7 separate regions of the Homo sapiens genome follow, and all the other regions are linked to region 2. The links are contacts of gene promoters, found by promoter capture Hi-C in blood cells and fetal thymus (Javierre and others, 2016). All regions are on one chromosome and are shown on one strand. Each heading gives the region's core, a stretch centred on a gene start or on the middle of the fragment in contact. The rest is flanking DNA. Distances are from core to core; before and after follow the strand shown.

What was found. Contacts are between HindIII fragments. The CHiCAGO score rates a contact against its expected background, and 5 or more counts as called.
Region 1: a contact is called between a fragment that was not itself captured here and the fragment with the promoter of FRMPD1 in region 2, in 1 of 17 cell types (naive B cells). The highest score is 5.1, in naive B cells.
Region 3: a contact is called between a fragment that was not itself captured here and the fragment with the promoter of FRMPD1 in region 2, in 3 of 17 cell types (endothelial precursors, erythroblasts and M2 macrophages). The highest score is 5.9, in endothelial precursors.
Region 4: a contact is called between a fragment that was not itself captured here and the fragment with the promoter of FRMPD1 in region 2, in 1 of 17 cell types (endothelial precursors). The highest score is 5.7, in endothelial precursors.
Region 5: a fragment that was not itself captured here is called in contact with the fragment with the promoter of FRMPD1 in region 2 in 2 of 17 cell types (endothelial precursors and M2 macrophages); the score reaches 7.6 in endothelial precursors.
Region 6: a contact is called between a fragment that was not itself captured here and the fragment with the promoter of FRMPD1 in region 2, in 1 of 17 cell types (M0 macrophages). The highest score is 5.2, in M0 macrophages.
Region 7: a contact is called between a fragment that was not itself captured here and the fragment with the promoter of FRMPD1 in region 2, in 1 of 17 cell types (endothelial precursors). The highest score is 6.2, in endothelial precursors.

The regions. Positions count from the first base shown.
Region 1 is chr9:36,901,124-36,904,370 of GRCh38, reverse strand. All of the region lies in intron 7 of PAX5 (paired box 5), which reads left to right. Among named protein-coding and RNA genes, the nearest start is that of MIR4476, 9.2 kb to the right of the region's middle. The HindIII fragment of the contact is 1,144 bases long and covers 929-2,072 here.
Region 2 is chr9:37,649,501-37,652,821 of GRCh38, reverse strand. It overlaps FRMPD1 (FERM and PDZ domain containing 1), which reads right to left and starts at 1,868. Exons shown (of 16, transcript NM_014907.3): 1 at 1,728-1,868. RefSeq lists a silencer at 1,727-1,996. The HindIII fragment of the contact is 4,272 bases long and covers 1-3,321 here.
Region 3 is chr9:38,351,950-38,355,380 of GRCh38, reverse strand. The region is part of intron 1 of LOC107987065 (a long non-coding RNA gene); the gene reads right to left. LOC105376040 (a long non-coding RNA gene) reads left to right here. Exons shown (of 4, transcript XR_929605.1): 4 at 449-488. Among named protein-coding and RNA genes, the nearest start is that of ALDH1B1, 39 kb to the left of the region's middle. The HindIII fragment of the contact is 911 bases long and covers 1,112-2,022 here.
Region 4 is chr9:38,304,746-38,307,931 of GRCh38, reverse strand. No RefSeq gene overlaps it. Among named protein-coding and RNA genes, the nearest start is that of ALDH1B1, 86 kb to the left of the region's middle. The HindIII fragment of the contact is 977 bases long and covers 1,022-1,998 here.
Region 5 is chr9:38,372,080-38,375,437 of GRCh38, reverse strand. LOC107987065 (a long non-coding RNA gene) reads right to left here. Exons shown (of 3, transcript XR_001746670.2): 2 at 2,461-2,526. It overlaps LOC105376040 (a long non-coding RNA gene), which reads left to right. Exons shown (of 4, transcript XR_929605.1): 2 at 1-165. Among named protein-coding and RNA genes, the nearest start is that of ALDH1B1, 19 kb to the left of the region's middle. The HindIII fragment of the contact is 1,538 bases long and covers 893-2,430 here.
Region 6 is chr9:38,281,703-38,285,179 of GRCh38, reverse strand. No RefSeq gene overlaps it. Among named protein-coding and RNA genes, the nearest start is that of ALDH1B1, 110 kb to the left of the region's middle. The HindIII fragment of the contact is 1,644 bases long and covers 1,261-2,904 here.
Region 7 is chr9:38,454,164-38,457,625 of GRCh38, reverse strand. It overlaps LOC105376041 (a long non-coding RNA gene), which reads right to left. Exons shown (of 8, transcript XR_007061487.1): 5 at 1,433-1,508. It also overlaps the pseudogene ARMC8P1. Among named protein-coding and RNA genes, the nearest start is that of IGFBPL1, 31 kb to the right of the region's middle. The HindIII fragment of the contact is 597 bases long and covers 1,805-2,401 here.

The DNA.
Region 1 (3,247 bases), core at 251-2,750, 750 kb after region 2:
GGTTCAAGATGGGGTCACATGCCCATGTTAAGGATAGTGTGGCCCAGCAGCCTATTTAGGGGGCTGGTGTGTAGGATAGGGGACTAGGGAGCTCTTCCCCCAGAGTTGGTTTCAATCCTGAACAGCTAGAGAGGCAGGCCCAAGCTAGGGTCCCATGAGCCAAGAGTCACCAGCAGGAGTGATAGCTGATGCTCCCATCCACTCCCTCTGCACCATGCATTGTTCTAAGCCCTTGACTTATTAATAGCTTGTCTAATCTGCATAACAACCCTTTGTGGGAGTCACTCTTCTCATCCTCATTTCACTGGTGCAGTAACTGAGGCACAGAGAAGCATAGAAACTTGCTCAAGGTCACACAGCTTGTAAGTGGTGTAGCCAGGTTTTAAATGCCGGCAGTCAGACTCCACAGACCACACACTTGACCTCTAAGCCACACTATTCTCATAAAGCCTGGTGAGTCATGGCAGCCTGGAAGTGTGCCAGAGGAAGTCTGAGTTGGACAGACCCCTATCTGAAGAACAGAGCTGATAGGTGGATTTCAGGCCACGTGTAGGGGCCGGGACTGATGGGGCTTCTTGGGTGATATCTGATTGAAGGGTAGTGGGTTGACTCACCCCTGAAAAGCTGGCATCCCCTTAGGTCAGCCTCCTGCTCAGACAGACCTCATGCAGCCTGACCAGGCCTTAGCAGGTCCTGGGTGAAGGTTTGGTGAGTGGATGGGCAGACACAGCAGGTATGATTGCTCCTTCTTTCTTGGGAAACATGCTGTGTATTCTTTCATGTTCCTGCCTGGGCCAGGCCACCTGGACATGCCCCAGCAGCCTCAGGGCTCTCAGCCCCTGCTGTGCAGCCTCCCAGCCCTCAGGCTGTGTGTTGTCCATTGTGGGGAGCCCTGTGCTTCAAGAAACTCCCCACCTAGACCAAAGCTTTCTTCTGTTCTTTTGCTTTCAAGCAAAAAATAAAAGCATAAGAAAGATAATTGTCATTACTTAAAAACAAATATTTTAGAGATGGGGTCTCACTCTGTTGCCCAGGTTGGTCTCAAATTCCTGGGCTCAAGTGATGCTCCCACCTCAGCCTCCTGAGTAGCCGGGACCACATATGTGAGCCACCCTTCCCAGCCAACTGCTTTTCTTAAACAGACTTTCTTCCTCCTTCCTTGGTCTGGGAGAGAGAAGGCCAAGTGCCAGGGTAAGGATCATGCCACTTAGGTCTGGTTCTCTTCAGGAACAAGTCGTGAAGTCCCCAGTTCTTCACACCTGCACCCCATGGAGTTCCTGCTTTCTTATCCTCCATTGCCCGGCCTGCCTGAGAGGAGGAAGGATGCCAAGTGCTGGTGGTGAGGGGTGGGGAACCTCGGCCCAGGTCCCGGGGCAGGCCAGCAGGTGTGATCCAGGTGACTGGATTTGGGGGAAGGGGAGGGGTGAAGCCAGAGGCTGCACTTAGGGCTCTGGGCAGCTACTCTTTTCTAGCTGGATTGGCAGCCTTATGGGGTCTTTCACAACCACTAATATCAGCCCCGAATGTTATAGTTGCTCAAAAGGTGTTGCCCAAAAGAAAACCATGGTTGGCACAAATAGCCGTCTGTGCCAGTGTGGGTGGGGGTAGATTTCAAACAGATACCTGTGGCTTCATTATTTTAAAATCCGTCTTGTGCTAATGAGGCTGATGGAATAAAAGGCCCTGGTGAAACCCAGCCTAAGGCCATGGAGCCAGGGTGTGGCTTCCCATGCCCCCAACACTCCCCACTCGGATCCTGCAGCCTATTTTGGCCCCTCTCCACCTGGGCTTCAGGGCCTCTCTAAGGGCTGGGCCCATCAGTGGCCTAGTTTCTCTGTGGCCTGAGCACACTTCCAGCAGGGACAGGCTCTGCCCACGGCACCCTCCCGGATGAATCCCTTCTTTGACCTTTGTAATTATTCCTGTTCAATCTTCCTTCGTGTTTTCTTCCTCCTCCCTTTTTGAGGTGCTCAACTCCTGCACTCTCTCCAGTGTATTAAGGATGTGAGTGAAATTGATGACTGGGATGTCTCAGGTCTTTATGATGATGAATGACTTTCACTGCCAAAGCTTTTATTGTCTGTGATTTGGGAAGAAGGGGGAACTGATATATCAAGGCTGCCTGTCAGACCATTTAATACAGTTATAAATCCTGACGTCACTAACTGGTGGTCAGGAGCTGGAGAATTCCACCGCCACCGCTTTGCCGAGCCTTTATGGATTTTCTTCTTTCTCTCACCTTTCTTTGCTTGACTATCACAATTGTGTTTTGGGAGGGGGGATAGGGACAGCTAGATAGTGAATTTAAAAATCACAGGGACACCCTGGTCTAGGGAGGGGATGGGAGCCCTCCCTCACCCTTACTCTAAAAGAAGCAGCAGATAGAAGGCCTTTCATTCTAATGTGAGCAAGGAAATTGTTTGGTGAGACAAGCCCTGAAAGTATGCTAATGCCTTCTTTGCATGTGCACCACTCTCTACAGTTTACTAAGTGATTTTACATCTGTTATTTTTCAGATCCTCCTACCATCTTGGGAGGGCAGCAGGGAAAGACTTGACCCTCGTTTTACAGAAGAGGAAGCTGAGGCTCAGCAAGGCGATGTTCCTTGGCCAGGGTTATGCCACCTGGGCTGGTGACAGGAGCTCCCTGGGGTGAAGCAACAGAGCATCACCATTAGGTGTTTAGGGCGTGGGGTCGGACAGCGCTGGGCTCCAATCCCAGACCCCCCTACCTTTTAGCGGCTGACCCTGGGAAGGACACTTACATTTTCTGATACGCCATTTCCTCACCTGGAAGTGAGGCTAACACTCTCCTCATTGGGTTGTTCTGAGGGTTGTTCTAGGGTTAAATGAAATCATGCACGTGGGTTTCTAAGCTAGGCTCTTGGCTCATCAAAAGTGCTCAGTAAATGTTTTTAAAAGGTGAAATGATAAGGAGAGGCATGTGACAGATGTCACAGGTGCACAACGGGGGCCACTTCCCGAGGCTGGGTGGGAGGGCTTCCTGAGGGAGGTGACACTTGAGCACACGGAAATGAGCAGGAATTAACCAGGCTGGGGAAACAGGTGAGGGAAGAGCATTCCAGGCAGAAGGAACAGCATGATAAAGGATGAGTGAAGAAAGCAGCTGGAGATGAGGGAGGGCCCAGGTCCCTGAGGCTGCCAAAGACCTGGGGGCAGACCTTGCAGGTGCTGGGAGCCCTGAGGAGAGTCGACTCTCCAGGGGAATCTCTGTGGGGTCTTGACAG
Region 2 (3,321 bases), core at 619-3,118:
CCCCAACAGAACCTAAGCTCCTTGAGGGTAGGGCCTGTTGGTAATTTTCATGTTTGTGTCCTCTCGAATGAGTAGTGAGAAAGTGCTTGATGAACCAATAGAGAATGAAGAGGGAAAAGACTGGTGGCATTTGAATGCGTCAGAGAGATAAAAGGCTCTGGACAAATTAGCTTCAAGGATGGGGTCTCATTCAGGAAAGACAAACTTAGGTACCACAACTCTGCTCTGGTCACCAAGCACACCCTCACCAGCTCTCTGATTTCATAATGCTAGAAACTTAAAACCAGGATGTCGAGGAAGGAAATAAAATCATAAAATCACTTCTGTGAGAATCCTTTCGTGGTAATGCGTTTCACCCACACACTGGGGAGCCACTAATTGCAGCACAAGGGGAACAAGATATTGGGCAAAAGAATAAATTTCACTTTCTAGCATATCACAGTTAACTACCTCGTGCTTGTTTTGCTGTGACTGTGCCAGAATGCACCAGTCCTGGAAAAGATGAACTTGGCTCCTTAACCGTACCCATACTCAACACCGACCAAAGGATGCCCGAAATTGTCTTGATTGGAAATCATCTCAACCATCATCTTAGACTAGAAACAAGTAGATGCTGGCCTCTAGGTCAGGACCCCTAGAACAGTGCATTATTTTTTTTTCCCAAACAACCATTCTGAGGTTTTTACAAAAATAACCGACTCACAAACAGAAACGCTTCCTGATCTATAAGCCACTTTGAAAACAAATCATTATGTCGTTGAATATTTCATGACGGTCCAAAGCACTGAAGAAGGCGAACTGAGCGTTCACCAATCCTCCCCATGTCTATTTTGGGACTTCCAAAGCAAACTGCAAATGCCTCCTTTATTTTCTAAACGTTCATTTGCAAGTGCTAGATGGATTCTTGGTGAAATATTGCCTCCACCCAAACTGACTAAATGCAGAGATCCGGAGGTTCCGCTTCTCCAGAGTTTACAGCTGAAAGAGACAGCGAACAACTAGTGAACACGACTTCCACCCTATTTTATAGGTGGCAAAAGCAGGGGGCACTTGCCCAAGGTCACACAGACAGTGGGTGTATGGCAGAGGAGCCACCAGAAGCCAGAGTCCTGACTCCTAACCCTAGGGGCATCCCCTGCTTCCCGAGGCTGACTCAACGCCCCCACTAAAGCTCAGTCAAAGCTGCTGCAAGTTAGCGACGCGACCCTGGAGACTGACTTCTGTGGCTCATTCCTCTCCACACGCAATGAGTTCTGGAGCTGAGACACTCAGGGATGCCCCTCTACTCAAAAAATGACAACACAGGCATTGGCACTGCAGCTGATCGTCCCTGGCGAACCCCTTCTGGTTCAGGTGTGGCCATCGAGGACGGACAGAGAGGGTTGGTCTGAGGTCACTCAGAAAGTTGGCGCTGGCCGCGGCCGCACCTGAACCCAGGTCTCTCCCCCTCCCGCGTTGCCGCTGTTTCCACTCACTACACCATGCAGATCTCGGAAACTTAAGCACACATCGCTACTGTGCAAACAGTTCACGATGGCAGGTCCTGAGCTAGCCCACGGACGCGCCCCCGAGCCGGGCTTGGGGACACGAGGACCGGAGGCGGGCGCGGGTCACCCGGGACTGGTGGTGCAGGCGGAGGGCGGCGCGGAGGAAGCCGAGGCGCAGGCCCGGGGTGTGGGGACAGGCCGTCTCCCCAAAACTTTGCGGTGCCAGGACCCCTCCCTTACCTGCAGAGGAGGTGCCGCCCGCGCGGACAAGGACCTAGCGGGCTGACGCTCTCGGAGAAGGGCGGCCCCGCCCAGCGGCGGGCACGGTCGCGGCCAAGGCTCGGGAAGCAGCGCTGCTCGGGCTCGGCTCGGGCTCCGCCTCCCGCGCCGAGGCTGCAGCCGGAGGGGTTGGCCGGGCCGGGCCGCGCCCGCGCCGTCTGGCGGCGGCAGGTGCTGAGGCTGCAGCTGCGCGGCCGCCAGCTGCCGGCGCCGCGACCCCCGCCCCGGGGGAGGAGCCCCGCGCGCCGCCTCCGCTGGCTCCGAGGTCCCGGCCCGCCGCAGTGGGCGGTCCCGCTCCCACCCGGGCCCTGCCTCCGCCGCCTGCCTCAGCTCACCGCCGGGGCACGCAGCGTCCGCTGAGTACCCAGGGGGGAGACTGAGGCTGGGAGAGGAAAGGGACTCCCCAAGGTCACCCGGACCAGCGGTGGTTGGGCCAGAACTGGAACCCAGAAGAGTTCCCAAAACGACCCCCTTCTCACGCCTCCTTTTCCCCAGGAAGAGCCCCAGCTACGGGGAGCCCTGGGGGACTCGCCCCCTGACCCCCACGCCCCGCAGGTGTTCGGCTGAAGGGAGAGGGAGAGCGTGGGCCCACGGTAGGCACTGTGGACCACCTCCCCTGTCTCTGTAAACTCCTTCCGCGCTGGGAAACTGTGTTCTCCTAGCTTTCCTCGGCCCTCTCCAGCCACTCCCTCGGTCTCCTTGAGGGTTCCTCAAACCAGAAGCTCTAAAATGCCGGAGCGCCCTGGGACTCTGCACTCAGCCCTTTTCTGACCCCCTGAGCCGTCTCACCCACTCCCCTGGTTCTGGTCCTACCGCCTCTCTGAGCATGATACCCAAATGCATGTGTCTGTGCACTATTTTCCGTGCTGAACTCTACTGAACACCTACGAGGTCCATATCCTGCATTAGACACTGGAGATACAATACACCTTTAATAAAGCAGTCCCTGTCCTCATGGAATGTACAGTCTAGGACTATTAAAATACAGTCCAGTTCCTGTAACAATAACCCAATCCCACGGGGCCAAGGGCACCACTCAGGCCTGCACTGACTGAGTGAAGGCCTCCTGGAGAGGGCATGCTCTAAATGGAAACCTGAAAGGCCAGTGGAATTGGCCAGTGAAAGGGAGGAGTGTGGAGAGAGCCTTTCAGGTTGAGACCACAGGAACAAAGACCCCAAGATGAGAGAGATCCCACAGAGGGAGTGGCAGGAGTTGAGACATAAAGCAGGGGAGTCAGCAGGGGCCAATTCCTGGTCAAGGAGTTTGCACCGTGTTCCCAGTGCACTGGCAGGTTCATGGGAGGAGTTCTGAGTAGGGTTGAGGCACCATCAGACTGGGATGTTAGATCATTCTGGGGATGGTGCACAGGCAGATGTTAACAAGTGCATCCTTCATCCAAGGGCGGTGGGGGAAGACTAGCAGCACTTTGGAGCCAACATCGTCTGGATGAAGGCAGGTGCTCCTCCTTTGTGACCTTCATTTCCAAATCCAGGAGTCCATCCAGAAACTCCTGAGTGGCTCCATCGCTGAAAGACCTCCTACGTAATTGCACCC
Region 3 (3,431 bases), core at 318-2,817, 700 kb before region 2:
CGACTGGAGTCAATATCTACTTTAATGTGTTTTGGTCTCATTAACATGGACTGGATTAACCAGCCCGCATGGGCTTTTCAATTAGGAAGATAAATTTCTGACAGTGTTTACAAAGGGATTAGATACCTGCTTAGCATGTGACAGGCCTTGCCTTCTCTTCCTCCCTCCTTCTCCCCCTCCCTCCCTCCATCTCTTCCTCTCTTTTCTCCTTTGCTCTCTCCCTCATTCCCTCCCTCCCTCCCCTTCCTTCTTCCTCTCCCTCTTTCTTCCCTGTGTTCCATGAATGAATGGGCTTACTCTGTTTCCCTTTTAGGGATTGCTATGGTTTGGATCTGTGTCCCCACCAAATCTCATGTTGAATTTTCATACCTAATGTTGGAGGTGAGCCTGGTGGGAGGTGATTGGGTCATTAAGTTGGATTTTTTGTGATGGCTTTTCTGTCCTTCAGTCCCAAAGGTCATCTCAGAGCAGCAGCAGCAGCAGCAGCAGCAGCAGCAGCAGCAGCAGCAGCAGACAAGCTTTGAGGGGCCCAAAAAGCAGGCCTAGCACCGTCCCCTTGGTGCTGTTCTCGCGATAGTGAGTGAGTTCTCCTGAGATATCTGTTCATTTAAAAGCGTGTGGCACCTCTACCCTGTCTCTTGCTGGCTTCTCCTCCCACTGTGTGACGTGCCTGCTCCCCCTGTGCCTTCTGCCATGATTGTAAGTTTCCTGAGGCCTTCCCTGAAGCTGAGCAGATGCCAGCATCCTGCATCCTGTAAAGCCTGAAGAACTGTGAGCCAATGAAACCTCTTTTCTTTATAAAATACCCTGTCTCATGTATTTCTTTATAGCAATGCAAGAATGGCCTAATACAGGGATATTTGGCTAGATGGGCTGGTATGAGTAGACATGTGATTAATATCATTTAACCATCCTAGGTGACATCATTCCAGCTGCCCAGCTCTACTCCAGCCTTTGCTTGCACACCTCCAGCCCCTGAAAGCTCACTACCTCAGGGGCCAGCCCATGTCACTGACCACAAGAAGGCTCTTCCCTGAGCTGAGCTGCCACCTGCCCCCCAAAAGAGTTCCATCTCATGTGCTAGGCCTGCTTTCTGGGACCTCTCAAAGCTTGTCTGCTGCTGCTGCTGCTGCTCTGAGATGACCTTTGGGACTGAGAGACAGAGATCTCATGCCTCCCGGGGGTCTCCCTCTGTGCTGGACAGCGCACCCCTCTCAATGTCTCATCCTTTGCAAGGAGGCACCATTTGCGTCATACAGTCACATGTGTATAGTTTCCATCATGCTATAAATAGCCTTTTGTGCTCCTTTTTTAAATTAAAAATACATTGTAAACATTGTTCCACATGCTATGCCTAATCCTCAAAACACAACTACCCTTTTAAGCACTTCAGGGTATTCTGTGTGGAACCTCATGGATGGCTTCCCCATCTTCCACTGACGCATGCATACCTCGCTTTTCAAATGTTTTCACGGCATCTTTGTTGATTTGGCGTTTTCCTCCTGTTGAATAATCTCCTCAGGAGAAATTCACATTAGTGAGATGCCTGGATCATTTATCTTGATTTGACTTTTGGTACATATTATTAGATCGCCTTGCAAAATGTCTGCTACAGGATAAGTTTTACCTCCCCAGCGGAGTGTATCACTTCAGCTAGAAACTCATTTTAATATACATATTTTTTTATTTTGTGGGAATAAAGCCATCTCGAGGTTGTTTTAATTTGATATCTTGCACCGAGGATTAAAGAAAAGTAAAGCAAAAGAGGGGGGAAAGACATTTTTCTTTGTGTTGGATTGTTATTTGTCTTTCTCCGGTGTGAATTGTCTGTTTGAACCCTTTGCTCATTTACATATTGGGGTATTGATGTTTTGCTTACAAATTCCAGTGAGCTCTTGAATTAAACCTTAGTCTGTCCTTAGACTAAGGTTTCTCCCTAGAACTTTCACTTTTATTTTAATCATGTTGCTCTTCCTGTTTTCTGCCTGGGGGAGCCCACCATTTAGGACTAGAAGACAAGCTTGGGCACTGACTGCCCAGCTCCTACAACTGGCACCACCGAGGTCCCAAAGAAGAATATTAATAAAAGCACTGTACTGGATGCTCTGGGTATATCTCTTCTACTCCTCAAAGTAACCCTGACAGGACATTGTGCCTATGTTACAGATGTGGAAACAGGCTCAGAGGGGTGGCGCGTGTGCTGCAGGTCTCACAGCAGGCACACCAGAGGTGGTGCAGGTAAGCATTGTCTCTGGGTTTGTTATCCTTTTCCACAATACCAGCAGCCTGCGGAGGAGTAAGAAAACATCTGCTGCCAACATCTCCAGGTTTGTGACTTCAAACTCCCCTGGCAGAGGAGGGAACTACCATATTTGGGGACAATTTACATCAAATTACCATGCACCAGCCAACAGCTGCCGCCTGGAGCGGGAGGCTGGCTGCACAGAGCCATCACATTTATACACATGATAATGAAAACCCGCACGCGGGCCTCCACGTTCTCCCATAAATATGGTCATTATGATCTTGTTGGCATTGCTTGTTGAATTCCATCTTGCAAATTGTTTCCTGGTTGCCTAGGGGAGCTGACTTGGGCTCTTCTCAGTCTCCTTTCCTCTAGACATGACAGTGTTTGGGGTTTGCCCACTGTCCTCAGACCATCCTCTGGCACAATTCTCAGGACAGCCTCCACCCCATGCTATGAGCAGTCAGCAAGTTCCCACTGTGTGCACCATGCGTGGGACTGATTGCAGAGAGCCGCAGAGCTGAGAGGGCTCTCAGGGCAGCTGACAGGCCCACTCCTGCATTTTACAGACTGACAGGATACAGGACAGGAGTGGGGTCAAAGTCCAAGATTAAAAAGGACCCTTTGCATACCCTCCCTGTGCTGAACCCTGGAAGGGTAGCACACAAACCTCCCCAGGGCACCCAGGGCTTAGGCAGGCCATGGCTCAAAGTCCGCACTGTAAATAATAGAAATCTTTCTCAGCTAGCTGGAGGACAGGGAGTGGCAGTGAGGAGATTTGTTACAAGGAATCTCATGAAATCCAGGGGCTAAATTGGGCCACATCTCCAGAAGGACTAGAAACAGGAAGTGGAAAGCCAATAGGAAAGCAAGGCACCCTCTTCAGCTCTTGTCTGCTTCCCTCTGCAGAGGGACTCCGATCTCCTGTCTTTGAATGAACATCCCCTGTTCCTCCCTGTACGTGGTAGAACATGGACACCCCAAGTGTCATGTTTCTATGTGACAAGTCCAGCCATCCACAGGGTGGCTGTCTCCGGCGTCCCAATTCTAAATTACCAAAGAACTGAAGAATGGGCTCTAACGGGCTCATCTTGGGTCAGGTGCTTACTTCTGGTGCCATCACCTGTAGCCAAGAGGGTCAGCTCAGCTTCTAACACATGGCAGCTGACAGCCCATCCTTGTGGGC
Region 4 (3,186 bases), core at 261-2,760, 660 kb before region 2:
CATCACGTGAAGGTTGAAATGAAAGTTGAAAACCCTCAGGACTTAAGTAAGCAGGAGTGTGTCTATGAGATGCATATTTAAAACACAAAGAACAGGTACACAAAGGTGATAGGTGTGGTTTGGACATTTTAAAAAATTCAAATATTTCTAAATGACATTTCCAGTTTTAAATGGCAATTGATAGTACCCTCCTCCACCCCAACTACAAATTTTCACTAATGGAACCATGAAGCCACAGCATTGCTTGCAGGCATACAGATGACTCAGGTGGACAGAAAACTTTCTGCTTAAATCTGAGAGGACACTCCACTAATGATAAGACAGGTGAAGAAGATTGAAATACCTTCTGGTGTTCACCTCCTGAAACACAGAATTACTTAAAGCAGATAGGAGGCTCCTGCATACCTCCTCCACCATCTGACCCTGGACAAACCTAGAGTCAAGATCAGTGAGGGCACCTTCAGTGTCCACCTTCAGCCCCTAAATACCATCTTCCTACTTAATCCCTGCCCAGGATCTCAAGGAAAATAGCTGTATAAATCTCAGGGGAGTTTAAAACAACAATAACAGGCCATTCGCACCTGCCAGATTGCGGGGAAAGCCTGGCAACACTAAACACTGGGAAGGAGATGACTGGGAGGCAGGTTCACTAACAATTAGCCCCAAGGGAGGCCTCCCACTGCATGGAGGGCAGCAGAGACCATCACTGCACCAACCACCAGGAACAGGAGTCCAAGCACTCCTCCCACTGCATCTTGGACTGCAGTGTTACCAACACCCGAGTCCGGTGAAACAGAACACACTCACGTGCAACAAGTTTATTACTTACAGGTAGGCAGCAAGGGACAAGAGAAACCTAGGATTCATTGTAAGCTGGTACCCCAAGGCTCAAGATAACTGCATGGGGTAGATAGGGTCTTGCCTGCACGTTTCCCACTTTGCATAAAACCTGAGAGACCCCGAAAGGCAGCCCACTCTGGGTTATAGACCTCAGGGGCAACAGGACTCACTGGGCAAAGCTTTGATGGACATCCTGCTTCCAGGGGAGAGAGGAACAGAGCCCGGACTGTCCCAGGCAGTTCCTCCCTAACTCAAGATATTACATTCCCTAGGAGGGATAGGAACAAGGCCCAGGCTGCTCCTGGCCTCCTCTCTATCTCAGGATATTGCATTCCCAGCACATTCTACAGTTATGCTTGAGAATTACAAGCAAAAAGAGGAAGGAATTGCGTTGGTCCAAGGCGACCCAGAGAACTGTCCTGCAATGACCTCACTTTAACTTTCACACCTCAAAGGATCATGGTAAATTTTGCATCATCTTCCATGACTTCTCAACCATATTCGACACCACTAAACATTCCCTTTTCTAAAGACTTTCTTCCCTTGACCTCCAGGAAGACATGCTCTCCAGTAGCTCCCCACCTTGCTGGATGTCACTTCTCAGTCTTTTCTGGCCCCTCCTCTGTCCTCCACGTGTTACTACAGACATATGTCATTTCATTATGCTTCACTTTATTGCACTTCACAAATATTGCTTTTTAAAAAAAAACAAACTGAAGGTTTGTGGCAACCCTGTGTCTAGCGAGTCTATTGGCACTATTTTTCAAGCAACATGTGCTCACTTTGTGTCTCCATGGTACATGATGGCATTTCTAGCAAAATTTCAAATATTTTCATTATTAATATATCTGTAATTGTGATCTGTGATTAGTGATTTTTGATGTTTTTATTGTAATTGTTTTGGGACACCACAAACTGCACCTATATAAGATGGCAAACTTAATTGATGAATTTTGTGTGTTGACTGTGTGTGACTGTTTTGACTGCTCCACTCACCCTCTCTCTCTCCCTCTCTTCAGGCCTCCCTATTCCCTGAGACACAACCATATTGAAGTTAGGTCAATTAATAACCCTATAATGACCTCTAAATGTTCAAGTGAAAGGAAGAATTGAATGAACATCTCTCTTTTGAAATCAAAAGCTAGCAATGATCAAGCTTAGTGAGGAAGGCATGTCGAAAGCTGACATCAGTCAAAAGCTAGAGCTCTTGTGCCAACAGCCAGGTTGTGAATGCAAAGGAAAAGTTCTTGAAGGGAAATGAGAAGTGCTACTCCAGTGAACACATGAATAATAAGGAGTAAAAGAGCCTTATTGCTGATAAGGAGAACACTTGAGTGGTCTGGATAGAAGATCAAACCAGCCACAAGATTTCCTTAAGCCAAAGCCTAACCCAGGACAAGGCCTTAACTCTCTTCAACTCTGTGAAGGCTGAGAAAGGGGAGAAAATTACAGAAGAAAAATTGTAAGCTAGCAGAAGTTGGCACATAAAGTTGAGTGAAAGAAGTGATCTCCATAACATAAAAATGCAAGTTGAAACAGCAGGTGCTGACATGGAAGCTGCAGAGAGTTATCCAGAAGGTCTAACTAAGATCATTGATGAAGGTGGCAATGCTATACAACAGATTTTCAGTGCAGATGAAACAGCCTTATACTGGAAGAAGATCCCATCTAACACTTTCATAGCCACAGAGGAGAAGTCAATGCCTGGCTTCAAAGCTTCAGAGGACAAGCTGACTCTTTCATTAGAGGCTAATACAGCTGGTTACTTTAAGTTGAAGCCACTGCTCATTTGCCATTCTGAAAATCCTAGGGCCCTTGAGAATCATGCTGAATCTATTCTGTCTGTGCTCTTTAGATGGAAGAACAAGGCCTAGATAACAACATATCTGTTTACAGCATGGTTTACTATTTTAAGTTCACAGTTGAGACCTACTCCTCAAGAAAAGATTCCTTTCAAAATATTACTGCTCCTTGACTCTGCACCTGGTCACCCAAGAGCTCTGATGGAGATATACAAGAAAATGAATGTTGTTTTCATGCCTAACCCAACATCCATTCTGCAGCTCATGGATCAAGGAGTAATTTTGAATTTCAATTCTTGTTATTTAAGAAATATCTTTCACAAGGCTATAGATGCCATAGATAGTGATTCTTCTGATGGATCTGGGCAAAGTGAATTGAAACCTTCTGAAAAGGATTCATCATCTAGATGCCAGTAAGAACACGCATGGGCCAGGCGCGGTGGCTCACGCCTGTAATCCCAACACTTTGGGAGGCCGAGGCAGGTGGATCATGAGGTCAGGAGATGGAGACCCTCCTGGCTAACACGATGAAACCCCATCTCTA
Region 5 (3,358 bases), core at 412-2,911, 720 kb before region 2:
AAGGCTTTGTCACCCTGTGGCCTCAGCCGTGTTGCTTCTCCTCTCTTGGTGTCAGCTGTTTATTTGCAAAGCCGGGGCTGGACTCGATGAACAGCGCTCAGTCAAAGGCCTTTTGTAGTTGAAATATTCCAGAGGATGCTGTCACTTGGAAATACATTCTCTCAGGTGAGTGAGTAATAAATGCAACTTAAGAGGCAGACAAAATATATTCCAGCAACAAGCCCAAGGGGGTGGGTAAGGAAAAGGTCTCTGAGGGTGAAAAGGATAAGGACTTCTGGGCTGGGAAACCTCCAAGTTCCCATCTCTTTGTGAGAGTCTGTGAGTCTGTTACATTTCAAGTCAGCTTCAGAAAGCACTTTCTAACTAGCAAAATGGTCCCATGATGGAAGGCACCACTTGGGGAGAGAATGAGCCCCCTGTCACCAGCATGTGCAAACAGAAGCCAGATAAACCATTGGCAAGGACACTGTAGGATGGAGGTTGTAAACGGAAATGTGTTCAAAGGCCAGGAATATATTTTGAGAGAGAGAGAAGAGAGGCCACATTCACATAACTTTGATTACTGTATATTGTTAAAATTGTTCTATTTTATTACTAGCTATTGTTGTTAATCTTTTACTGTGCCTAATTTATAAATTAAACTTTATTTTAGGTATTTACATATAGGGAAAACCATAAGCTATGTTGAGTTCGGTACTATTGAGGTTTCAGGCATCCACTAGGGGTCTTGGAATGTATTAACACTTTCATCCTACCTGTTCCTAAATCGGGATTATTTTGTAATCTGATGATTACATGTTTATAGTAATTAGCATGTAATTTTATAGTAAATAACGTGTTTATAGTAATTCTCAGATCATTGGCTCTGACAGGCAAATTTCTTTTTAAAGCTTGATGTTAAATATATTTTAAAGCTATCATAATTTATCGAATTTTTTTGAAAAAGAACAATGGGGAGGATAAGGGGGACTACTATAGATATAAACAACAGAATATTATTCAGCCTTTAAAAAGAGGGCACTCCTGCCGTTTGTGACAGCACGTGTGGACCTGGGGCACATTATGCTAAGTGAAATAAGTCAGGGAGATGATTCTTATTTGTGAATGTAAAGAGCAGCCCATTGCGTGTTTAATATACAAGCCCACTTCATCTGCTTTGGTGGATTCTGCATCACTGAGCCATAAGTATGTTAGTGGTTGGATGTCAAGAGCAGACGATGTTGATGACAACTGGGCAGGTAGCATCTCCAATGTGGAATGCTGAACAAAGGGATGATTCACATCCCAGGTGGGACAGAGCAGGACAGTACAAGATTTCATCACGCAGTTTAAAACTTATGAATTGTTTATTTTTGGAATTTTCTATTTAATACTTTCATACTATGGTTGACTGCAGGGTAACTGAAACTGTAAAAAGTGAAAACGTGGATAAGGGGGCACTGTTGTACCAAAGTTGCTTTATCCATCTAGCCATCACACAGAAAGACAGATCAATACTGCATGATCTCACTCATATGTGGAATCTTAAAAAGGTGAACTCACAGAAACAGAAACTAGAAGGGTGGTTATACCAGCGGTGAGGGGTAGGGGAAATGGGGCAATGTTGGCCGAAAGGTACAAACTTGCAGATGAAAAAGTTCTGGAGACCTAATGTACAGCATGGCTATTATTAACTATACAGTGAATAATATAGGAATGATTCCTTTGTTCAGCATTCCACACTGTAGATGCTATCTGTCCACAAGTCATTGACATCATCTGCAACTATAGTTAATAACTATAACTATATAGTCAACAACTATAGTTCATAATCACTAATAACTACTAATTAATAACTAACTATACAGTTAATAAAATTAGCCATGCCTGGCTAATTTTCATCCTTGTTACTGTACAGAATCCTTAGTGTGACTATACCACAATTAATTCATCCACTCCTGTTGCTGGCCATTTAGGATGTTTCCAGTTTCAGTCTGTTACAAATCATGCTGCCATAAACATTTTTGAACGTCTTTTGATGGCTGTGTGTACGCATTTCTGTTGGGTGCATACCTAGGAGTGGAATTGCTGGGTCACCAGGCACGCATGTGTTCTGCTTATAGTAGAAAATGTCAATCAGCTTTTCAAAGGGGATGTATCCATTTATACCCTGATATCTGTGGATGAGTTGGATGCTCCAAATTTCCCTGTATTTAAATATTAACCACAAATTTTTAAACACCCTTTGCAGGCCAAATAAAATACAGATTTTATCTGTAGCTGCCTGTTTTCAATCTCTCGAGTGGAGAGAATTCAAATGGCAGAGCAGCTGAGAATTAGACAAGAGCGTTTCCAGCATCTCTTTTTGCTGGAGAGCTCAAAATTGGCTCCAGCAAATGGTTCAAGTCTTTTTGATTCCTCCACTCCCACCCAATACTCGCCCCCAAAGCTTGTAAAACAGGCTTCCCCCTCCCTACTTACCTCCCTAGACCGCCGTGAAGATTTACTAATAAATGTCTGCACATCAGCCAGTGAAGAGAAGCAGGGCTGTAAGTAGACAATAATCAGGATACTAATCAGCATCACATCCAAGGGCGTGACTCCATTAAGCCAGCCCTTGCCCCACCACTGACCCCCCTCCATTCAGCTGCTCACGCCACTATTCTGTAAGCAATTTTCAGGCATCTGCTCTGGGCTGGGCCCTCAGTTATAGGCTGGAGACCCAAAGGAGGGCCTGGAAGAGTTCCTGGACTCACCCTCCATGGTACGAAGGAGGAAACTGAGACCCAGGAACAGAAAGGAATCTGCCCAGGTCACAGCACCCTTCAGGCATAGCTAGAGGCTGAAGCCCCTAACTCTAGCTCAGGCTTCTTTCTGTACCTGTGAGGTCCCAGACATTCTCAAAAGGACCCCCCTTTTCCCCTGGCACTGCCTCCCTGCCACTCCCTGTGCCCCCCACTGCCTCTAGTCCCCACCAGTTCCTCCCTTTGCAGCTGCCTTGATGAGAAAGGGATTCTCCCATCCCCTCCCAATTTCCCAGTCCTTTTCTTTCTCCTCAAATCTGTCAGGCTGGCAACCCTATCTGGGTCTCACCGTGCCCACCCTGCCTCTCTGTTTCTGCACTGAGGTCCTCCTGGGTGGAGACTCTTCTGAGGTTCTGGTGTCAGACAGAGCTGGAACTGAATCCTGACCCTGCCTCTCTAACTAGATGTATAACCTTGGGCATGCCAAGGTTAACTTAACCTCTCTGTGCCTCAGTTCTTATATCTGTGAAATGGGGATATCAACAGTACTTATCTCCTAAGGTAGGTATGAAGAATAAATAACATAAAGTGTTTGGAAACCATTAACCTCAAGGCCAGACAGGAGTTTTGAGACG
Region 6 (3,477 bases), core at 833-3,332, 630 kb before region 2:
GGGCTTAGCAGTGGCTACTGTCATTATTATGTTTATTACTGTTTAATCTCAATGTCTTCTCCTCACTTTCCTCCCATTCCTGCACCACTAGAATTGGATGCTGTTGCTGCAGCAGCTTTGGGCCTGTGAGCCAGGGTGCCAGTGGGGTGGAGGGTTGAGCCTTTACCAGTAATTACCGCTCCTGGGAAGCCCTCTTGGCTCAGCTCCACACTCAGCGTGGCGAGGACGACAGCCACTTGTCAGAAGCCTCCCAGAGAGACCACCTGCAAATGAGAGCAGCCCCAACCGGGGAGCCGTGCTGAAGGGGGAAGGGCAGTGCGAGTCCCTTTGTCATTAGGCAGCCAGCGCTGGAGGGATCACTCCAGCTTAAATTAAGGATTTAATGAGATGAGGCCAAATTAGATGCAATTAAAAAGACACTTTAGAGCTGGCAGACGACCAAGAGAGGCAGTAATGACTTTTGTAGAAGGGAATCCCACAGGCTGGGGGTGCGGGGCTGGGGAGGGCTTGGTTTTCTACTCCTGGAAACATCCAGGGCTGGGGGATGGGAGGATAAAATAGACTCCCTCATTGTCAAGGCTGATGCCCATGGAGGCATGCACAGCCCTCCGATGTCTGCCCAGGCTTTCCATTTCCAAACTGGGATGTTTGGAGCCCCCAGGGATCCAAAGAAGGCCTTTAGTAACTTCACCAAGCATTGCCTAAATAGATATTCTTTATTTTAAATCTTGAAACAAAAATGCTGTGCAGGCTCCCAAATGCTAGTCCAGGGGGCCCCTGCCAACCTGCGCACTCGTGCTGATGTGCTGATGCAATTCTGCGTGGATCTCAAGACAGAGCTTCTCCGGCCCTGCCTGGGGCCTCCATGTGGATTCTGAGTGGACGCGCCATTGCCTGGGAAGGAGGCTTACGCTGCTTCCCTTGGGTAATTCAGGCCTGGACATGAACTTGCACATCACACTGTCCATGTGAGCCCACTGCAAGGTGACTTGCATGCTGCACTCACTTAACTTTCCAGCACAGCTAGAGACCTGCTCGACACCACAGAAGGGCTGGGCCAAAACCAAGGACTGGGGGCAATGCCCTAAGTCTTGATGTTATCATACTGGAAGAACCCTTCAGTGCTTACTGTAAGTGCTAGGCTCCACTAGTCTGACTTTTGTTCACTTAAATGGACTCCGTTTAGCAATGTAAGGTCACACTGTTACCCTGTTTACAATACTAGATAATGCATTTAGGATAAAATTGAATCCTGAAGCTTAGACTTAACAGGCAAAACAGAACAAATTTGACTGTTCAGAAAGTTTCAGTGAAGAGCTGTCAGACACAGGCACTGAGGCATGAGATTTCCTCAAATGACAACCCTAAACATCCTTCCAGCTACATTTGAAAAGTATTTTTTCTGCCAAACAATGAACATTTAAAGTAAGAAACCTACTCATCATCTCCCTCCCAATGTAATACTCACCATTTAAAAAATAAGAGCAAGACTTAGGTATTGTTAATAATTCAACCTTGAAACAAAATAATTGCCTATTGTTCCTCTTGAAGTTTCTGGATCCATTTAATTGGTGAATATTCTGAGATAGTAAGGTAAAGTGCTTTGAAAATATGTTACCATTTGCCACTACTTTTCAGGGTGGATCAGGATTTTAATAATGTAGAAAAACCAAATCAAAATACTGAAATAAATTGGATATTGATGCTGACACTGAATTGCAACTATTATTTATAATGTCCAACTTCAAATTATTTGGGTTATTGAAATAGTCTCATTATTCTCATTGGTTGACTTTATAATCAGTAGTGCTTATAAATTTGAACTGAAACATAAATTTATAATAATGTCACTCTTGTCAGTTTTATGTAATGGATTTCTACCTATAAATGTGTTTGAATATTACTTATGAAATGATTGGAAACTGCTGACCTAGTCCAACCCAGTCATGGTACAATCGGGAAACAGACCCCAGAGAGGGATGGGGTCTTTTTCAAGGCCACAGAGAGAGTCAGCGGCAGGATTGGACTTAGAGGCTGGATCCCTGACCTCCAGGCCAGGGCTTGGAACAAAATGGGCTGTAAAAAGGCCTTTGGGACTCTGCCCCAACACTGGCACCTGCCTCTGCCTTGCGCAGCCCTCTTCTGTTTCAGTGGGACCCTTGTGCTCTCCCTCCCTCTCCCATCCCTCTCTCTCCACACAGTGACCAAGTTCTTTCCTTCAAAATCCCCGGGCAGATCAGAACGCCAGTCTGAACCCCTTCTCCCTGGAGCCACCAAGTCACAAGGAAGAGCCTGATGCCCCCCTGTTGGGGGAAGGGATGTCTGAGCCAGAGGTGCCAGCCCCCAGCCCCACTTCTGCTCTGTGTGGTAAGTGCTTGAGCACACAGTGGTGTGACACCACACCACGTGCCTGGCTATACTGACTGTGGACTAGGGAGATTGTGAGAATTTAGGGAATCCATCCATGTAAGGCATAGAGAAAGTCGTCAATGGCTGTTAGCCATTATGATCTGTTTTATAATAAAGGATTGATGTAAGCCATCATTTTTTAAAAGCATTTGGCTGCTAAGGAAGTAGAGCAAAAAAATGGCTTAGAAGATAAATGTAGGGCACTTACAGTTCTTTCTCTGCTCTGCCTTCAGCCTTATCCACCCTCCTTCCTATGCCTCATGTGCCAGTGCAGTGGTCTTCTCACTGCCCCTCAGAGTGTGTACCACTTTCTCAGGCCCCCATGCCTTTGCTCAAGCTGCTCCTTCTGCCTGGAAGACCTCTGCTCTCCTCCTGAGGCCTCTGTGTTACGCCCCCTCTTCCCAGAAGCCGTGGCAGGATCCCTCAGTAGCGGCAACTCCAGAATTTCCACAGGAGGGCTTAAGGTCAGTGCCATATTGAAAAGAGCAGGAAGCTTGGTCCTGGGAGACTTGTCTGGAAGCTGTGTTTGCACAACTCACTCACTGGGTTTGCTTAGATTGTGCGTTTATTTGGGGTGGCTTCGTGGGGCTGATGGAGATCACAGGGAACTCAGGCACCTCGCCGCCGCGTTAGAATGAAGCTCTGCTCCTTCTGTATGCACTCGGCGCGTGGCTTGCGCTGTTCTTGTGGCAGAGCTGGTGTTTGGTCCCTAGTGCTTCCTTGCCTGCCCTCTGCCCTCTGCTCAGCCTCTGCCCCCACCAGCCACAAGGCAAGACTAGTTCATAAGCCCCCTCAGAACAGTCACCAGCACCCAGATCCTCTGAACTCATGCCGCCAACTCCCCAGCTCATTTCACAGGAGGGAAAACTGAGACCAACTAACATTAAGGCCCGTGCTTCAGCTACAAAATAGGTGCTTGCAAACACCTTATGTTTGGAGCCAGGAGAAGGGATGTGCCATGGGATCAGAAGTCAATAACAGTTGGATTAATAAATCAAGCAGTAGATAGTGAAATAAAACAAAGTCCAGAACCTATTGAACTAATCAATAACACCTGATTGCCTGCTA
Region 7 (3,462 bases), core at 854-3,353, 800 kb before region 2:
AGGGCTACTCATCTTACCTGGTCTTCTCTTGGTGATCTCATTTATGTCGCCCAGGACGGTCTCAAAGTCCTGGCCTCAGGTGATCCTTCCACCCTGGCCTCCCAAAGCACTGGGATTACAGGTGTGAGCCATTGTGCCTAGCCTCATGTCCATGTTTTAATAACCATAAATACGCAGAAGACTTAAATTTGAATCTCCAGCCCCGACCTTGTCCATAAGCTCCAAAACTATTTAGCCAACTACACAGTTGATATTTCTTTTTAATGTATTGAAAGCTTCTCAAAGCTTGTATCAAAAGCTTCAGTATGCATCTTTTTATTTGAGACAGCGTCTCACTTTGTCACCCACGCTGGAGTGCAGTAGCACAACCACGGCTGACTGCAGACTCAAATTCCCAGGCTCAGCTGATCCTCCCACCTCAGCCTCCTGGGTAGCTGGGACCACAGGCACATGCCACCACCCCCAGCTAATTTTTGTAGAGATGAGGTTTTGCCATGTTGCCCATCCTGTTCTCAAACTCCTAGACTCAAGTGATCTACCTGCCTCGGCCTCCCAAAGTGCTGGGATTACAGGCAGGAGCCACTTTGCCTGGCCAAGTATGTCTTATATCTGCCCCAAACCTGGATCTCTTCTAATGTTCCTTAATGAGTAAATGACAGCTACCATCATCCTTTCATTGTGCAAGTTAGAAACCTAAGTCATCCTCAACCTGCCCCTCTCCCTAACCTTCCTATCCAGCCCATTACAAGTCCTATTGTTTTCACCTCCTGAACTTCTGGAGTTGACATCATCATCTAGGATGTGATAAAATCACGTCTCACCTGGATCCCTGCAAGTCTCCCAGTTGGTCTTCCTGCCTCATCTCTTGCCCACCTCCAACTCGATCTCCGCATTGCAACCAGAGAGATCATTTAAAAACATAAATCTGATCACACCATCTTCATGCTGGAAACACTTCCATTATTTCCTACTGTACTTAGAATGAAGGCAAAACTAAACACAGAGCCCCAAAGGGCTCTGCCTGGCCTGCCCCGCCCACCTCCCCAGACCTCTCTGCCTCAATTCCTCACTCCAGCCATGGCTGAACTTCTCAGCTCTTCCCACTCTGCCTTCTCCCTCCCTCCCCAGAGCCTCTGCATGTGCTCTCCCCTTCTGTCTGCAATATCCTTAACTACATCTTCCAACTGACCTCAGAGCCATCATTACTTCATTGGAAAAGCCTGTTTCACTCTCCTAAAAGTCCATATGCCTGATTCTCGGGCCCACAAAGCCTTCTTCTGCCATATTTTTGGTATATAATGTAAGACATTTTAGAAGGAAACTCAGCTGATCTCTTTCCTCTGATCTACTCAGGTCTCTTTGGGAATCTGTGTTTGGCAGCAGCCCAGCTGCCCTTTCCTGCCCTCCTCACCCTTCCCCTGCCTTTACTTACTGATGGGATGAGGGAATAATGAAGGAAGAGCTCCATGTCCACCGAGCTGGTACAAGTGCCATTTAACTGCCTGGTCCTGCAAAATGGCCAAAAACATCACATTCATATCATCAGTCATTGCTGTTGTCATTCACACTTTAGTCTTGAACATCACTGTCAAGAAGTTTGGCCTAAGACCATCCGCTAAGACCATCTGATCTTTTTAAATTTCACTTTCTGAGAGCCAAGGCTGCTCACCTGTAGTGTGTCTTCCCTAAGTGGAATAATCTTTCATACTTTTTTCTTCAGCTTGATTATTTATCCAACTTCTCTGCTAACTGAAACTAAGTCCTTCATTTAGGGGCAGAATCCAGTTCTGTGGGGCTAAAAGCTTATATAATTTGGGCATGTTTTTAAAGCAATACTACAAAATGTCTTACTTTTTCATATTTTAAGGGAGACATATGACCATGTAAACACCTAATCAGGGTTCTTCCCACTCTCCCAGAGCCTTGGAAGGGTCCTGTGTGAGTGAGGGGCCCTGAGACTAAAGCATCCTTCACAAGAAATTAGCACTGGTCAAGGTCAAGAAACATCAGCTCACACCTGAGCCACTGCTGGGCTGTTGGGGCAGGAGAGAGATTACTGGACTACAGGCTGCAGACTCTGTTCTCTCCAGCCCCCACTATCTGTGGAACAGGACTGTCATTGTCTCATGTCTAAAACACATGGCAGTAGTGTTACGGCTTCTCTTCAAAGAGATGCCTCCTTTCTGGGACTCCCACCACACTTTGTTCTTTCTGCTCTGATCCCCACAAGGCCACCACAACACACTCTATCATATATGTCCACATTTTTGTTCATGCTTTTCCCAACTCCTACACCATCCACCAGCCAGCCGGCCATCTGCTGACCTTTTTTCCCTAGACAGCACCTACTGTTCCCTCAGACGTCTCAGAGAAGAGGACTCCTCTGGGGATTCCATAAGCTTGGCATATTCCCCAGTAAGTCTTTAAAATGCCAGTGCTCCACAGTTATGTCTAACCATGGATCTGAAATATCTGATAAGTGGTGGGGAGGGGGTGGATGAGACCCAAACTGTCAGATATGTGATAGAACTGTAAAAGTCAGACTTCTGCTTTTAGGGAGGTAAACAGAGTATATATACCAGTCTCCTCATCCCATACAAAACCCTCAAAATGATAAGAAAGAAAGAAGGAAGGAAGGAAAGAAAGAAAGAAAGAAAGAGAGAGAGAAAGAAAGAGAAGGAAGGAAGGAAAGAAAGAAAGAGAAAGAAAAAAGAAAGAAAGAAAGAAAGGAAGAAAGGAAGGAAGGAAGAAAAAAAGGAAGGAAGAAAGGGAAGGAAGGGAGGAGAAAGAAAGAGAAAGAGAGAGAGAGAGAATGCATAACCATACTAGAAAGCAAGAAGGGGCTCTATCAGGGACATGGAAATTACCAGAAGACCCTGAAAGATAGAGAGCAACTGGGACTAGATCAGAGTAAAGGCATCAGCCATCATGGCCCCAGACTGTAAGAGCACTCAGGATGTGCTCAATACCCATAGTACAAGAAGTGGAAGCAGAATGGGGCTGGCAACAGACCACAGGAGAAGGAGGAAGAGGAGGAAAAGGAGGATAAGAGGAAGGAGGAAAAAGAATTCTGAAACTTTAAGACAGGTCTTTTGAAATAACCTAGTCAGAAAAGAAAATGAGAATAAAAAATAAAAGAAAATGAGAATAAAAAAGAATGAGAGCAGCCAAACGGGAAGGCTCAAGATGGTGTGCCTGTTGGAGACCCCAATCTGCATGAGCTTCCTCTCAGACCATGAATGAAAGTTACTGGAATTCTCCAGTCCTGTCACTCCAAAGGAGCTACTGTTTACAGATGCCACAGTGACACCGCACCTCATGGCACTGCTTAGCAGGTTCCACTATATCCAGGAGTACATCGGTCGGATCGTCTCACACTGCTGTAAAGGGGCCAGATCATCAAACAATTTTATTTAGCCGTGGTGCAGTTAAGAATATTGCTCACCTACTAACCTCATTTTC